2 separate regions of the Homo sapiens genome follow, and region 2 is linked to region 1. The links are contacts of gene promoters, found by promoter capture Hi-C in blood cells and fetal thymus (Javierre and others, 2016). All regions are on one chromosome and are shown on one strand. The core of a region is centred on a gene start or on the middle of the fragment in contact, and the rest is flanking DNA. Distances in the headings are between cores, read along the strand shown. Region 1 holds the start of KLK5 (kallikrein related peptidase 5). Region 2 holds the start of KLK14 (kallikrein related peptidase 14).

Region 1 (5,641 bases), core at 3,077-5,576:
CTCGCACCTTTTCTGACTTAGCACGCTGATATTCAAGCACTGGAGGACCTTAGGGAAGTGCACTGTCAAACAGGAACACAATGAGAAGTGGAGAAAGATGGAAGGCGGCAGAGATGGGTCGGTATCAAGAAGAACCTGGACACTCACCTTGGGGGCTCTTGGTTGTCCCCCAGCCAGACACCAAGCACTTTGTCCCAGCAGAGGGACAATGAGAGGAGACGTTGATGGGTCTGACATCTTTAGTGGGACGAATTCTTCTGTTCAGTTTGATGAGCATGAGGTCGTTAGAGTGGCCAGGGTGGGAGTAGCCAGGGTGGGGGATGGATTTGACCCCCTGGAACATCTGCTGCCCAGATTCATAAACTGGTGACAGGGAGTAGTGGCCGAGACGGACTCTGAAAACTCTGAGGAAGATGGGGCAGGTCACCACCAACCCTGATCTCTATCTCCACGTCCAACGCCAATCCCAACCCCACACCCAGCCCCAGCCCCACCCCCATCCCCACCCCCGGTCCCCAAACCATCCTCAACTCCCTCTTGGTCTCCAATCCCATGCCTGTCCCCATCCCAGTCACAATTCCAAACCCATCCCATTCCCAACCCTAATTCTTTCCCTACCCAGAAGCCATCACCATATGCATTCTCAAGCCCAAATCCAACCATCTCCAACCCCACCCAAAACTCCAATCCCCATCCTTCATTCTATATCTGCTCCCAATCTCAACCCTATCTCCATGCTATCTTCATTTCCACCCCAGCCCGATTTTCACCCACCCCCAATTCTAAAGCCAATCCCAATTCCACCTCCATCCCAAACCATTCAACAAATATATGCTCCTAACCCCAAATCCAACCCATCCTTGGCTCCTTCCCATTCCCTACCACAACACTCTCCCCTCTCCAACCTCATCCTCCCACCTTGCTCCCCCGCAAAACTCCATCCTTAGTCCTATCCCCAACTCGACCTCCTCCTGCTCCCACATCCCCAACCCATCCCCACCAACCCTCACCTTCCATGACACCCCCAACCCCACTTCCCCGTCCCCACCAGCCCTCACCTCCATGACACCCCCACCCCCACTTCCCCACCCCCACCCCCACTTCCCCGTCCCCACCAACCCTCCTCTTGGAACTCCCACTCACTTCTTCCTGCAGTGGGCGGCCGTGAGCAGCCACTGTGGATGCACCAACACCGCCCCGCAGTAGAGCTGGTTGGGCCTTAGCAACAGCGCGGCCTGCCACGGCTGGGTGTGCATATCGCAGTCGGATCCATTGATGATGCGGCTGCTGCTGTCATCCGACCGGGCGTCTTCCCCGGCCCCAGCTCCCAGGTCCTGGTTGCTCCCAGAGGGCACGGTGTTAGAGGGGTGGTCACAGGAAACATCATTGTTGGCGAGAACATGCTCTGGGAACGGAAAATGGGTTGGGCGGGGCTCAGAGGCGGGGCTTGGGCTGGGGGTGGGTTTCAGACTCAAGAGGCCAGACCAGCTAGAGGGTGGGTGTCTGACATGCTGAGGGGGCAGGGGCAGGGCCTGGAGAATAAGAGTGGCACCTCTCAAGCCCAGGCTCAAGCTCAAGGACAGAGCCCAGGCTCAGGTAGGGTTACTGGACTCTAACTGGACCTCACAGATTCCTGGAATTGGCTAGAACTACATGTGAGGGTAAAATTGGGTACAGGATTCCTGGACAAGCTCAGGGGTAGTGCCAAAGCTGTGGGGGCTGGAGCCTGGGGATGGGAGGGAGACCAGGGCTTTAGGGATGGAACTGGTCTCAAGAAGTGGGGTCAGGCCTCAGTGAGTGGGGTCAGGGCTGGAGGCAGGAAGGGGTTTGGAATTGACTTAGTTAGGGCCAGGGTCAGGGTTACATGTTAGAGTCTCCTATAAAGAGCTCTGACTTTGGGCTGGGGGCGGTGGCTCACGCCTGTAACCCCAGCACTCTGGGAGGCCGAGGTGGGCGGATCACCTGAGGTTGGGAGTTTGAGACCAGCCTGGCCAACAAGGTGAAACCCTGTCTCTACTAAAGACACAAAAATTAGCCAGGCGTGGTGGCGCGCACCTGTAATCCCAGCTACTCAGGAGGTGGAGGCACGAGAATCACTTGAACCTGGGAGGCAGAGGTTGCAGTGAGCCGAGATCACGCCACTGCACTCCAGCCTGGGAGAGAGAGCAAGACTGTCTCCAAAAAAAAAAAAAAAAAAGCTCTGACTTTGAAGGGGGTTCTAGAAGGTACCCACAGAATAGGGGGTGGAGCCTGGCCCAAAGGGGTGTGGCCTTAGGCGGGGTCCACTAGAGTCTGGCCTAGGGGCGTGGTTGAGGAAAGGAGGTGGGGTCAGAGCTCATGGGCGGAGCTAGGGTTCCGAAAGCAGGACCAGGAAAGAAGGGCTCAGCTTAGGGGGCCACATGGAGGGGAAGAGCAGGCCTAGGTTTCTGAATTCTCAGATGAAAACATGCCTTCTCAATCCTGTCAATCTCCTCCTCTCACACACAGACCTACAGACTACATGCATGCCCCACTCCATCATCAGTCCTCCCGTGCCCATTCACTGGTTCTTACCCTTTTTTTTTTCTTTTTTTCTTTCGAGACGGAGTTTCGCTCTTGTTGCCCAGGCTGGAGTGCAATGGCGCGATCTCGGCTCACCGCAACCTCCACCTCCCGGGTTCAAGCGATTTTTCTGCCCCAGTCTCCCGAGTAGCTGGGATTACAGGCACGCGCCACCACACCAGCTAATTTTTTGTATTTTTAGTAGAGACGGGGTTCTCCATGTTGGTCAGGCTGGCCTCGATCTCCCGACCTCAGGTGATCCGCCTGCCTCGGCCTCCCAAAGGGCTGGGATTACAGGCGTGAGCCACCGCGCCCGGCCTGGTTCTTACCCTTGCTGATGGCCCTGGCACCACCATCATTCACGAACTCACCCCAAGAACCACGCGCACAACAGCAGTAACAGCCAAGCACGCACGCAGTTCTGCAGACACGCCCATGTTGCCTCCACAGGTGCAGCTAACATACAGCTCTGTCTCCAGGTACACACGCTCCCGGGCAGCCTAGCGGGATCGCACACCCTCATCCACAGTGTCTCAGTGCCACGCACAGATGCCGTGTGTGCACAGATGTTCAGACTGCCACATACTCTTCTGCACACAGGCACACACTGCAAGTCAGTCACCTGGCACCCATCTCCCAGAGATAGCTACCCCTGCACCCTCTATCCCTCCAGGCAGAGACAGAAACTCCAGACACACAGCTGCACCATCACACATACAGTAGCATTTACACGGCCTCACACAGACACACACAGTCACATACAGTCACCCCTACACAGAGCTTCAGGTAGTCACACGGTCACAAATACGGGCATCCATAACGTCACACTCAGCCACAATCACATAATCGCCTGCAAGCAGCACACAGTCACAGCTTTCCATGGTGATGACCACTTTTGTTGCACGCAATCCCGGGACCTCAGGGACAGGAACTGCAGATACCTGCAGTCATATACAATGCCAAGTCACCACACACAGCCAAACACACAGTGAACACCCCCAGTGCTACATGCATTCACCCACACAGCTGTGGAGCCACACACAATCTTAAATGCACACACAATCACAAAACCACACACACAGCCTCAAAGGGTCAGTGCCACCTGCCGCACAGTCACCTGATATGGGAAAAGGCATCCCCCTCCCCGACACACACCGTGGCAGTCACAGGGCCACATACGATCGCACAACCACAAGTACAGACAGAGACTCACATTCACCCGGTCCCGGAGTCATGCCCAGGCTCACACAGTTCCCCAGGGGACAGGCGCTCTAGTGCCGCAGAGACAGTCCTCCCAATCCCACAACCCTCCCACCCCAGAGTTCTGGTTACCTGTGACCCCCAGAAGCAAGGCTGTGATCAGAGCACAGAGCACCCACATCCAGGGGGGTCTTGCTGTAGCCATGGCCGCTGCACCTGGATGGGGAATGTCAGAGGGTTGGGAGGCCCAGGCGATCCGGGGAGCCCTTAACCCACTTCCCCTCCCTCCCCTACCTTATTTCCCCAGGTAGAGAGGAACCACAAGGACGGGCCACCATCGGCACTGCGCTGAGACCCAGGCACTATAGAATTCAGAAGATAGGAGTCTAGCAGCCTCCAGACAGGGCAAGGAGGGGACAGAGAAAGATGTGGGTGCAGGACGCACAGACACCTCTCCTTCCCTGCCTGCTGAGCCACCCTCACCAGGTCTCACTTGCCCTGTCCCCCAGGTAGGGGGTGGGGGATTTGCTCCCAGCTCAGCCGCAGACTTCTCAGGCCTGTGCCTTCCTGGCCACTGCCTCCTCCTGGGCTCTGGGCACCGGGCCTGAGTTATAACCACCCACTGCTCCCTGGGGCACATTCCCGGGCAATGAGGTGCCTATCGGGCCTTAGCAATAGCTCCTCCTGCTCCCCCTATCTCCACCCCCAGAGCACCCCCCACCCAGTCCGGAATGTCACTCCCTACCTCCCTGGCCCGGAGAATGGGGAGGGGTCTCCGGAAGCCAGGCCAGCCCCTTCCCTGCCTCCCCCAGCCTTAAGGATCTGGCTTCTCACCAACTCTGGGTCACTATTCTTGGCGCCTGGATTGCTTGCTTTCTTCTCTGCATTTTGCTCATTCCACCACTGTCTGTTCACCCTCGATACTCCTCTTTCCATCTTTGTCTCTGGTTTTTTCTCAGAGTCTTCTTCCATCTCTCTGTGGTTCTCCCTCGGCTATCTTTCTGAGTCTCTCTCAATATCTCGTGTCTCTCTCCACCCCTCTCTCTCTTTCTATCCCTCTCGCCTCTCTGTCTCTCTGTCTCTGTCTCTCTCTCTCTGTCTTTTTCTCTGTCTGTCTCTCACTCACTCTCTCTCTCTCTCCTCCTGTCTGTCTTAGGAGCCTTGTTTTGTTCTCCTTGGGCCACAGGTGTTTCTGTCTCCCTGTTCCTCCCTGTCTTTCTATGCCTCTGTGATTCTTTCTTTTTTAAAGGTTCTGAATGATTTGTCAAATATACCTTAGAGTTCTTGGCCCATTTATTTTCCTTTATTTCACTTCTGCTCTATTTGTTGACAGCATTTTTTTTTTAGATATAACTAAGGTACAACAAACTGCTTGTTCGTTTGTTTATTTATTTATTTGAGACAGAGTCTTGCTCTGTCGCCCAGGCTGGAGGGCGGTGATGTGATCTCGGCCCACTGCAACCTCCGCCTCCAGGGTTCAAGTGACTCTCGTGCCTCAGCCTCCAGCATAGCTGGGATTACAGGTGTGCCCCACGACACCCGGCTGATTTTTTTTTTTTTTTTTTTTTTTTTAGTAAAGACAGAGTTTCACCATGTTGGCCAGGCTGGTCTCAAACTCCTGGCCTCAAGTGATTCACCCACCTCTGCCTCCCAAAGTGCTGGAATTACAGGCATGAGCCACGGTGCCTGGCCCAAACTGCATATTTAAAGGGTAGAGTCTGATGGCTTTAGGTACTTGTCACATCAGCATAGTCAAGAAGATGATCATGGCCGGGCGCGGTGGCTCACGCCTGTAATCCCAGCACTTTGGGAGGCCGAGGCGGGCGGATCACGAGGTCAGGAGATCGAGGCCATCCCGGCTAAAACGGTGAAACCCCGTCTCTACTAAAAATACAAAAAA
Region 2 (5,641 bases), core at 2,249-4,748, 130 kb after region 1:
TCCTGGAGACCCAGGAGCCCAGGCCCAGTCCCCTGCTTTCCAAGACGCAGGAGTCCTCACCGATGGGGCTGGATATAGTTCCCCAGCCTGACACTCGGCAGGAGGTCCCGGGGCTGGCACAGGCCTGGGTGACCTCAATGGGCCTGACTGCCCTCCCGATCCGTGCGGGCTGCTGTAGCTGCAGCAGCATGAGGTCGTTGTCGTGGGTCCGGGAGTTGTAGTTGGGGTGCGTCACCTGACGAACCACGCGCAGCACCTGCTGGGTGGCCTCCCACCTCCTCAGGTTGTGCTTGCCCAGGGCAACCTGAAGGATCCTGGCCACGACCCCCAAGAGAAGCGCTGCTCAGGGTCTGAGCCAGAGACTCCTCCCCACCCTCCAGCCCGGTTCCCTGGCCGGGTGACGAGTCTTCCCCGAGGTCTAGCCTGCTTCTCACTAACTGCAGGCCGAGCATTCTTGGCCTCCTGTGCCCTTCCCCATGGCCAGGGCATTCTCTCGGCCCAGCCCCAGCTGCCTCTCCTTCCGCTCTTGGGCTGGGCTCCAGCTCCTGGCTTGGGAAGAAGGTGATGATTGGGAGAGCTTGGCTCCGTGCCAGGGTCTGTGCTGGGCTCGGTGCATTGAGTCCTAAGCGAAACTGCGTTATGAGTCTAGGCTCTAAATCGGAACTGATATTCCGGAGTAGGCACCATTCTGTTTCTAGCCTGGGTTCTGAGTTCTAGACATCTTAAACTTTTGACTCTATGCTAAGATCAGGATTCTAGATCGAACCTGGATTATGACTTGATTTATTTATTTATTTTTTTTTTGTGATGGAGTCTCGCTCTGTCACCTAGGCTGGAGTGCAGTGGCACGATCTCAGCTCACTCTCGACCTCCAACTCCCAGTTCAAGTGATTCTCCCGCCTCAGCCTCCCAAAGTGCTGGGATTACAGGCGTGAGCCACCGCACCCAGCCTCTACAGGTCTGTTTCATATTGGATTATAGGGCTCTTGGTTCTGGACTCTGGCCCTAGCCCTTGACCTCAGGTTGGGCTCTGGGTTCTAGTTGGAGCTCTAGGTTATGGCCCGGATCCAAGATTCTAGAGTCTGGTTTGCATTCTGGCCTTTATATTCTAGACTCTGGCCTGAGCTTTGATCTCTAGGTTCTAGACTGACCTGTTTATGGCATAGATATGGCTTATAGGCATTTTGACCTCTTGGCTGGGGTCTGGGTTGTAAGTTCAGATCTAGAATTTAGGAGGGGTCTAGGTTTTATATGGGGCTTCTGATTAGGATCTGCATTCTGGGATTTATTGATTGATTGATTGATATGGAGTTTCGCTCTTGTTGCCTAGCCTGGAGTGCAATGGTGCGATCTTGACTCACTGCAACCTCCGCCTCCCAGGTTCAAGTGATTCTCCTGCCTCAGCCTCCCGAGTGGCTGGGATTACAGGCATGTGCCACCATGCCTGGCTAATTTTGCATTTTTAGTAGAGACAGGGTTTCTCTATGTTGCTCAGGCTGGTCTCGAACTCCTGACCTCAGGTGATCTGCCTGCCTCAGCATCCCAAAGTGCTAGGATTATAGGCATGAGCCACCGCACCCGCCACATTCTGGGATTCAAACACTGGGTTGAAGTCTGCTCATAGCGGAGCTATAGACTAGACTCTGAACTAAACCTTGGGTGTGAAACAGCCTCCAGGTTTTGCCTCTATTCTTAGAGTTGTATGTTCCAGCTGTGAGCAGCGTTCTAGTTCTGGATTTATGGCTAGACTGCAGGTCCTGAACTGGGCTCTGAGTTCTACGTAGTGTCCTGAGTTTCTGAATGTAGACGGGGTCCTGAATTCAGCCACCAATCTGGAATGGGCTAAGCTTGGTCTCGATGTAATGTGTGGCCTCTGGAAGAATCACTGGATCAGATGTTCGGTTCTCAGCAGGTCCATGGGTTCCAAGCTGCCCATCTGCTTTCAGAACCTATGCTGAGTTCGAGATTTATGGAGGAGCCCACATCCCGAGCTGTGTTTTTGTTCCAGGCTCTTCTCTAGACCTCAAACCAGGAGCCAGCCACTACATTGGGTTCTATACAGAGATCCAGGTTCTCAGCTCAGCTCTAGGGCTTTAGACTCTGGAATTCACTAGGTACAGGGACAGGGGAGGGGGTCACTTACGGGCGGCCGCAGTGAGCAGCAGTGATGACCCACTGGCCTGAAAGCAGGGCGCCTCCGCAGAGGAAGCGGCGCCTGGGACCCGCCAGCAGGGCCGCCTGCCACGGCTGGGAGCTCCGGGTGCACGTATGGCCACCAATTATCTTGTTCTCATCCTCTTGGCTCTGTGTCATGGCTAGGAGTGGACAGGATTGGGTGGGGAAAGTAGATGAGCAAACACTCTCCACTCCACAAGTTTGTAGGATTCCAAAACTGACAAATCCCCTTCCTTTTGGTCTAACCCCTAAACTGCCCGCCTCTATCTGTCCCACCCAGGGTGAGACATGCCCAATATTGACCCCGTTATTGCCCCAGCACGGAGAGCTTTCTGACTCACCTCCCAAGTCACCTCCGTAGCATCTCTTATTTTGTGCCGTGGCCACCTTATCCAGGGCCTTGCTACATCTACGACCCTTAGCTCTATGCTCCCATAATTTCTGTGATCACTTCTCGAAATATGCCACATTTCCCCCCAATGAGTCCTTCCCCAACACATTCAAGGACCTCCCTGTCTCCTCCCCAACGTTCCCACTCAGTGGGACCCCAAGGATCCGCCATCTCTTGCCCCACACTTGCCCCCATCCACCTCACACACCCATGCCACGATCCCGCCACCCCATGCCACGATCCCGCCATCCCATCATCCTTCTCCACCTTCCCTCTGACAACAAAACATCTTTCTGACATTGTTTCTTTCCTAACACAGTCAGGTAGAGCCCCGTGATCTTTCTGCTATGACCCACTCAGGACCTAATAGTTCCCTAAGATTCCTTATGTATTTTGCACCAGACCTTATAAACACCTCTCTCCCCGGCCCCACAATTCCCTAGCACCTCCACAACTAGGAATTTAGGCCTCCAGCACGTTCCCCCACCATGACCCCCAAACCACTCCCTGCTCTTTCTTATGAGGTCACCATGAGCATCCAGGGGCCCCAAGGACCCATCCCCATCTCTTCTCAGAGTCTCCAGGGGACCCCCTTGTGTCATACCCAACCGTTCTCTTACCTATAGCCAGGACTTGAAGTGCTGTCAGCAGGAGGAACATTTTAGGGGCTGAGGGCCAGGTCCTGTCAAATGCAGAGAAAAAGTGAGAGAGAAGGAACCTTCAACAGAACCGGGGGCTGAGAGGCAGAGACAGCAAGGGGCACTTACCCAGAGCCCAAGACCCTCAGGGACATGAAGACACAGCAGAGAGGTAGGGACCAGAGACGAGGGGGGCGGGGCCTGCAGGCTCTGCGGGCGGCAGGTGGGAGGATGTGGAGCAGGGCACAGGTCCCTCCTTGATGTCTTGATGAAGGAAGGAGGGGAGGTGTCTCTCTTCCTAGTCACACTGGCAAAGCCTTTTATCCCTGGTAAGGACAGCTGGCCCTGCCCCCACCTCCCGCCGCCCTGCTTCTGACATTTTTTTTTTTTTATTGCCTAGTTCCCATTCCAGGACTCCCTGATCCCATCCCCTCCCTCCCCTGTCTGGCCAAAAAAGCAGCCACAATTGTTCATGAGAACCCGCCCAGGGAAGATGCTATAATCTAGAAGGAATCCTGGGAGGGGACCCCAGGGCAGGGTGGGCAGGGGAGGGTTCCCAGTTGCTGGAGGTGGTGGATCTAGTGGTGGAGTCAGGAAACCAGGGTGGGGAGTGTCAGAGGAAAGGGCACGAAGGGGCTGAGAGAGGGAGGAAGAGATGGACTGAGAGAGGGAGTCACGGGAGGAGGGAGAGAGGGAGAGAGAGAGAGAGAGAGAGAGAGACAGAGAGAGATGGAGAGAGAGAAAGACAGAGAGACACACAGACAGAGAGAGACAGAGACAGGGTGACGGGGGGGAGAGAGAGAGAGAGATGGAGAGAGAGACAGAGAGAGAGCCAGACAGAGAGACACAGAGAGAGAGAGAGAAAGAGAGAGACAGAGACAGAGTGACAGAGAGGGGGAGAGCAAGAGACAGAGAGAGACTGGGAAAATGAATGAGAAGATATGACAGTGGAGAGAGAGGAGTCCAGGAATACGAGCACAGAGGCAGGTGTGCTCATGAGAGAAGGAACTGAGGAGAGAGCTGGAGAAACCGGTGGAAGTTGGATGTGACAGGGAACAGAAGAGGCAGACGGTGGGAAAAAAACAAGACAGAGGAAGAGGGAGACACAGAGACGCAGGGAGAGAGGGGTGTGGAGAAGTGGAGATAGAAAAGCAAAAGACGGAGGGAAGAAGGTGGAGATAGAATGGAAACAGACACACAGAAAGAGAAAACAGTGGAGAGAGAGGAGAGAGGCCGAGACGCCCCCACCATGCGGCACTCACCACAAACACACACAGAACAACAGCGATGATGATGAAGGCAGTGCGGGCATGAGACGTGGAAGAGAACGGGACATGGTGGGAGAAAGAGGATGGGACAGGCAGGCCGATGGCAGAGGGGAGACGGGAAGGATGGGCACCTACAGGGGATGGGGACAATGACAGAGGAGACGGAGGCCTAGATGAGAGATGGCAGCGCCAGGGAGAGATGGAGAGGAGGGGTGGGATAGAGGACGGGCAGGAGGTGGGCGGGAGATACCTGGACCTGGAGCAGAGCTGCCCACCTTGCTTTCTCACTTTCGACTCCTGAGAGATGGGGGAGCAGAGGCCCCAGCAGGGAGCAGGAAGGTTGGTGCCAGAACTGGCATTCCCCAGCTTGGGATCTGCTAGGTGCAGAGACAAAGTGAGAGCTGGAGATGCAAAGAGAGAGTGACAGAGACCCAGAGAGGGGGACAGAGACCCAGAGGGAGAGGGAGAGAGACCCAGAAAGAGAAGGGGACAGAGATTCAGAGACAGAAGGACAGTCTTAACAGACGGGGTTGGAAATTCAAAATAGGAGACGGCAGAGAGCAGGAGAGACAGAGTGAATGAGATGGGGAAGGATTCTGGCCAGCCTGCAGGGGGGTTCTGGAGTTGGGGGGGTTCCATCCTCATTTGGGGGAGGGCCTACCCTCCTCAGCCCCTCCCCTAGCCCCTTAAATTCCCCAGTGCTTGTGTCCGTCTCTGGGCCTGGGCAGCCCCGTACCTGGACCACGTGGTGACTCAGGAGGCTGCTTGCCTCCCTTGGCTACCCCAACTGTTCCCCGGCCTCAGCCTGACTCAGCCTCCCTCCACCTCGGCACCCCCCTAGGCTGGCTCTTTGAGCTGGAGCTTGGCCTGGGTCTGTCTGTACACCTGGGGACGCACTGTCTGGGCACCTGCATCTGGAGCCACACACCCATCTCTCCCCAGGTGCCTTTCTGTGATTCCTGAACTGTTTCTGTTTAACTATGGGCCTCCCTGCTTTGAGCTGAAGGCCTTGGGAAGCCTTCCCGGCCTCCTCTGCCTTGGTTCAGGCTCGGCATCAACACAAGAACCCCCTCTTTATTTTTAAATTTTTAAATTTATTTTATTTATTTATTTATTTTATTTTTTTTTCTTTTTTTCTTTTTCTTTTTTTTTTTTTTGAGACAGAGTCT

Evidence for each region. The method cuts DNA at HindIII sites, captures the fragments that hold promoters and counts their contacts. A CHiCAGO score of 5 or more calls a contact.
Region 2: a contact is called between the fragment with the promoter of KLK14 here and the fragment with the promoter of KLK5 in region 1, in 8 of 17 cell types (M2 macrophages, M0 macrophages, erythroblasts and 5 more). The highest score is 9.1, in M2 macrophages.

What each region holds. Positions count from the first base shown.
Region 1 is chr19:50,948,712-50,954,352 of GRCh38, forward strand. It overlaps KLK5 (kallikrein related peptidase 5), which reads right to left and starts at 4,327. Exons shown (of 6, transcript NM_012427.5): 1 at 4,036-4,327; 2 at 3,874-3,957; 3 at 1,144-1,405; 4 at 148-404; 5 at 1-62. The coding sequence starts at 3,946. LOC105372442 (a long non-coding RNA gene) reads left to right here and starts at 1,412. Exons shown (of 7, transcript XR_007067308.1): 1 at 1,412-1,596. The HindIII fragment of the contact is 21,591 bases long and covers 1-5,641 here.
Region 2 is chr19:51,079,389-51,085,029 of GRCh38, forward strand. KLK14 (kallikrein related peptidase 14) reads right to left here and starts at 3,499. Exons shown (of 6, transcript NM_001369775.2): 1 at 3,334-3,499; 2 at 3,187-3,248; 3 at 2,144-2,315; 4 at 61-314. The coding sequence starts at 3,226. The HindIII fragment of the contact is 24,105 bases long and covers 1,846-5,641 here.